Regions from separate parts of the Homo sapiens genome. Here region 2 is linked to region 1. Evidence: promoter capture Hi-C in 16 types of primary human blood cells and fetal thymus (Javierre and others, 2016). All regions are on one chromosome and are shown on one strand. The core of a region is centred on a gene start or on the middle of the fragment in contact, and the rest is flanking DNA. Distances in the headings are between cores, read along the strand shown.

Region 1 (2,700 bases), core at 166-2,665:
CAGGGATTCAATTCCATGAGTCCTCAGGCACGGTGTCAAGCAATTTACATTTAATCCTCAGGATTGAATGTCAGTTCTGCAAGGAATGTGACTGTCTCATGTTACAGATGAGGAAACAGGCTGGGAATGGTTTAGTAACTTGCCCAGTTCTGTCTCTTTCCACTAGATGACTGCTTTGGGCTGAACATCCTTCTGATCCAAACATCCTTTATAGGGATATTCACTGGAGACCTAACGCTGCTTTAGAAGTGATTTTTAAAAAAAATTCCCATTTTGTTTTATTTTATTGACTTATGGGAGAGTAATTTTCTTCTTTGAATTTTGGGAATGGGGTCCTTCTGGGGTGATCTCCTGTCAAGTGTGAGCTGGCACAGGAGTTCGGAGGAACAGCTGGTTGCTACACCTCCCCTTCCCCTAAAGAGAACAAAGGCTCAGGCCCTCTTTGACCACCAGGTAAGTAAGAGTTCCCCACTCTCACTCCAACACACAGATAGGCTTTTTGGAGCATTTTCTGCCTAGCTACCCCTCTTGCACCCAGCTGCCTCTGCCTGGGCCCCACTGATGTTCTGAGTCCCTGACCCAGGCACAGATATGGGAGGTGAGGTGTGTCTCTCTGTTTGGTGACTTTCCAGGTGCCAAGACACACCTGATCAGCATTCTGGATGCAGGCACTCCCCATCACCCCTTACTTACAGAAATGGGCCACAGGATGAAGGGTATGTATCTATGAATGGCAAAGCTGTACAGTAAGATGAAGAAGCTGAAGAAGGATATCTCCATGGTGATGATAAGCCTCAAGATGGGGTGCACGGTGAGTGAGGACAACAGTATCATTGCAGCTATTAGGCAGCCCTGCAGTGAGACATAGACACCTGAGCCAGCAGCAAGGGCCTTTCACCATCTCTCTGAGGACCCCTGGAGCCTACTCCTCCTTCCCCCCACCCTCGGCCAAGGCCCCCCACCCAGGGATACCAGTTTAGCTCACCAAACTCCGAATCTTGATCTCAGCGTGCCCCAAGAGCCAGAACTCTTTATTGCTGTCTTTTAATTCCCACCGGTAGCGGCGACACCCCCTCCTCGTGCCCACTTCGTGCTTGGGCTGCACCGCCTTTTGAGGTTTGTCCGATGGCTCCTTATGGTCCTGCACCGCCTTTTGAGGTTTGTCCGATGGCTCCTTACCGTCCTTCTTGTCTTCCTCGGGTTTGGCCCCGGGTGGAGGTGGAGCTGGTGCTGGCTCTGGCTTGGCCCCCTTTGCCGCCTTAGGTGCCATGACTGACTCGGTGTCCTTGGCTTCTCACAGCTGGCCTGTTTCTTCTCTCTCCTGCTGTTTCTGGGTAGGCCAGGCCTACTAGAGTGCCTGGTGTCCACCGAGCGGCTCAGAGGGCGTGCTCAGCTAACTGCCAGGACCACCGAATGCCAACTCCCGCGCCCTCTCCACGCGCGCCCGTCTCCTCGCGCAGCTCCCATCCGCCCGGCAGCGGCCGGATCCTCCCACCCTCCACGCGCCGGCCCCCGACGGGCCCCAACTCCGTTCCCAACCCGCCGGTCCCACCTCCGCGCGGAGCTGCCCTCGCGGTCCCATCCCGGCGTCTCCAGGTGGCCCCAGGTCTGTAAGCCGCCGCTCCGCTGCGGGGTCGGGGGGCTGCGAGCACCGGGTCACGGCCCTGAGCTCCGCGGGCGCAGCGCCAAGCGCAGGAAAATACAACGCGACTTTCACACAAGGCAACGAGAGGAAGCAGGTGTTCTCGATAAAAGCAGCAGCCCTAATTTTATGGTCACATTTAGGCTGGAATGGGTGACAGCATGCGAGCTCGGGGGTGGGCTCGGAGGCAGCGATTCGACAGACACGTGCATCTGCTAGGGCGCCGGGCTGGCTTCAGGCGGGCCTCTGCGGGGCGTCGGGGCCGGTTTCGGGGTAGGCGTCCTTGGCGGGGGAAAGCTTCCTTTCAACTTCGACTCCCAGGAATCTTTTCAAGTTGGTCCTCATCTTCGTGGTGACCACAAACGCATCGATGCAACACACGATTACCGCTGTGAGACACAGGGACTGTCAGATACAAGACCATATGCGGGAAGGAAAGACGGGGTTATTTTGCAGCTCAGTAGCAACCTCTCGAACCTATCCCTATCCAGGGTGGGCGCTGCGGGTGGCCTCCTGTCCCCTCTGACCCTTCACTACTTTCTTGGCGCCTGCCCAATTGGCTGCTGCAGGCGGATTCTGCCTTTCCCAGAAAAAGGGATTTTGGAAGTGGGGGATTTTGTTGCCAGTAGTAGCCTCGCTTGATGTCTGAGGCACCCGGAAAGGACTAGGGAAGGGCAGTGGCCCTAGGTGGCTGCAGGTAGGGGTTAGGTCCTGAGAAGCCCTCTCCGTGGAAAGACTTTTGGGCTATGTTTGCAAAGGGCAGGAAGGAGTTCCTAAGGGGAGGAGGAGGACCCAGGCACTGGACTAGGGTCTCTAAGGAATCTGGTGTGGCCAGGACCTCCAGAGCCGCTGAGAAGGGGGCAGAGTTGAGGCTGGAGAGGTGCAGGATCTGGGACTCTATCAGGAGGTCAGGTGTGAGATTCAGAAAACCTGCTTGCAGTGTTCATGAGGTGAATGGAAGGTGAACCAGGCTGGAGGCAGGAAGACCAGTGCGTGGTGGGGTGGGATGCTGCCATCCAGGTAAGAAATGGATACCTGGGGGTGGGAACCCCTGGCAG
Region 2 (2,723 bases), core at 209-2,708, 230 kb before region 1:
TTCAGTAATGTATTTTTTCAGGTCCTCTGTCACAGAAGCCGAAATCATAGATCCCTCTAGGGGAGCAGTTTTTAAGTTGGGTGCTGTTAGAGGGACCCTGGGTTTTAGTGGGCACTGAGAGTCCGTCACTAACACTGGAAAGATTCCCAGCTACTCATGGTGCTGTTGATAGCATTTCCCTGGCATTTTCACATTTCATACATTGTCAGACCTGTGTTTTTTCATGAAAAGGAAAGAAAATTTTTGTTCATGGTAACAATTTAAATTTTGCTAATTTAAAAATTTGTTAGTAATTGCTTTTTATTCTTTTTTAGTTACCGTGAAAAAGCAAAGAAAGATGCTGCCGCTGTGGGTAATCATGTTGCCAAATTGCTGCAGTCCATTGGCCAGGTAAGCTACTGGGCACACTGTGCCCATACAGGCCTCAGCACGTAACTCCAGCCAGAAAGGGTTTAGAGACAGAGGGTGTGGCACTGCCTCTGTGCTTCTTTAGAGGGAGCTGTCATTTCCCTGCCTAATGGGATAGCTTGTGATAAGGAAACAAGATATTTTTAAAGTGCTCTCCCAGCTCTTGGAGAAAGCCTTCCCATCTCACAGTGATTGGCTTTGTGCCGCACCCTTTGTTAATCTTCTCTTTTAAACTGGAACAGAATCTGTATTTATCTCTTTACAGGCACCAGAGTCCATTTCAGAGAAAGAATTAAAATTACTCTGTAAGTCCCCTTGAATTAATTTCCTTATTTTGCTTGATAGAAATGTGCCACAGGGAATGTTCCCAGGTATTTTGAATGGTTGAAATTTTAAGTTTTCCATGGCCTCAGTGATATAGATATAGATAATTATTGGGTAAGGTTTTTTTTTTCCTCTCATAATACAATACATGGCGAGTATTTTAAGACTGAATCAGAGGTAGAACATGTTTATCTGTGGCAATGCTAAAAAGGCTTGACGGTCAGTTAATTGAAAATTGCCATTAATACAGGATTTTCAGTTTTTAAATTTTAAGTAATTTAGGAAGTTTTTTTGTCTGAAGACTTTGGGTGTGAAGTCTTGAGTCACATGTACATTGACAATATTGGTTTAAATACTCATTTTGATCTGTGTTAAATGACTGTAATGGAGTTAAGAATTTTGCCATCTAGTTTCGGAGTGGTTAGGTTCGTAGGAGTCTTCTCAGTAACTCCTCAGTAGGCCAAAAGCATTTTCTTTTATTTAAGAGTCAGTTTCAAAATACCCAATCTGTTGTGCATGCCATCTGAAGATTTCTCCCTGTAGCTACTGCTCCTACGTCCTGTGGAAGTTTATATTTTGCATGCTCCCCATCCTTAAAATAGATTTATCCAAGCTTTCCATTTTATGACTTCTCCACAATGTCTGTTTAGGCTCGGTTTTAATGTTTTCTGCCACTACTAATCTTGCACCTTGTTTGTTCTATTAGACTAATCTTGAATTAGCGTTTGTTGTATTAGATTATATAATACTAGATCACAAGTTTGATGCTGGGTATTTGAACATTTATTATTCTGTTCTACTTTGGGGCGTTTTTGAAAATTTCAATAATACAAAGCTTAAAGTCATTACATATATCAAGAGTACAATTCATAAACCTCTCTCCTTTAGGACTACTTATCCATAATAATGATGAAAACTATTATTTTTAGAGCCATATCAGGCATTGTGCTAGAGATGCACTTTATACAGATGTCACATTTAATCTGTAGAACAATTCTCAAAGGTAAACAGTATCATCCCCATTTTACACTTGAAAACTGAGGTTCAGAGAGGCCATCACCTTACTTGCTTCTGAACTGGTTGTAGTGCCAGGGATATAAATTTAAGGTGATTCATGTTCTAGTGCTTTCTCTGCTATTAGAACCAAGGAGAAAACATTTCTTCACATTCTCATGTCTGAGAAGGGTATACACATAATTCTCTGTTCTTAAAGTCACCTGTGATTCATAATATTCACCAGTCACAGTCATTACTTCCAGAATATCTTTCCTCTGTTCAGGCAGCAATTCTGCATTTCTTCGAGTGGTAAGATGTCGATCCTTAGCTGAAGAATATGGTTTGGATACAATTAACAAGGATGAAATTAGTAAGTATAATAGCCTTCTGATTCTGGGTTAATTTTAATTAATTTAAAAGATATAAATATTTTGTGTATAATAGTGTTGAGTATATGGTGATGATATTAAAGATAACGTAAACATATTCTAATTTTATTCTAAGCTTATCTAGGTAATTATAATTTATATATTATATGAAACTTAATGTATGCATAAAGTCATATTTAGGTCACTGAGTCCATTGTGTGATATGTATGAGTTAAAGTCAGTATGTTACTACTTCAGTAGAGATTGTGTGACTCCAGTTAATAGTCCTGAAACTCAAGTATATAGTAAATTCAGCCCTTCATTGTTTGTTACATTGCAAATTAACCAAATTAAACTGAAATTTTTTTTCCTTTCAGTTTCTAGCATGGACAATCCAGATAATGAAATAGTGTTGTACTTAATGTTACGGGCTGTTGATAGATTTCATAAACAACAGGGTAGATATCCAGGTAAGAATAGCAATTGAATTACCAGATATAATAAGATCTTCAATAAAACATTTAAATTGAAAGTGTTCTCAGGGTATTTATAATAGTGTTGCTTGAATTTCACATTGTAAACAGATTACACCCCAAACGTTCCCCAGTGAAGAACCACCTTTTGTTT

The links. The method cuts DNA at HindIII sites, captures the fragments that hold promoters and counts their contacts. A CHiCAGO score of 5 or more calls a contact.
Region 2: a fragment that was not itself captured here is called in contact with the fragment with the promoter of CMTM2 in region 1 in 1 of 17 cell types (activated CD4 T cells); the score reaches 6.0 in activated CD4 T cells.

What each region holds. Positions count from the first base shown.
Region 1 is chr16:66,578,178-66,580,877 of GRCh38, reverse strand. It overlaps CMTM2 (CKLF like MARVEL transmembrane domain containing 2), which reads right to left and starts at 1,415. Exons shown (of 4, transcript NM_144673.3): 1 at 986-1,415; 2 at 694-852. The coding sequence starts at 1,270. It overlaps CKLF-CMTM1 (CKLF-CMTM1 readthrough), which reads right to left. Exons shown (of 4, transcript NM_001204099.2): 4 at 1,743-2,047. The coding sequence ends at 1,877. CMTM1 (CKLF like MARVEL transmembrane domain containing 1) reads right to left here. Exons shown (of 4, transcript NM_052999.4): 4 at 1,743-2,047. The coding sequence ends at 1,877. The HindIII fragment of the contact is 2,154 bases long and covers 1-1,941 here.
Region 2 is chr16:66,808,364-66,811,086 of GRCh38, reverse strand. NAE1 (NEDD8 activating enzyme E1 subunit 1) reads left to right here. Exons shown (of 20, transcript NM_003905.4): 14 at 315-390; 15 at 674-713; 16 at 2,012-2,098; 17 at 2,474-2,566. Among named protein-coding and RNA genes, the nearest start is that of TERB1, 8.1 kb to the right of the region's middle. The HindIII fragment of the contact is 222 bases long and covers 1,348-1,569 here.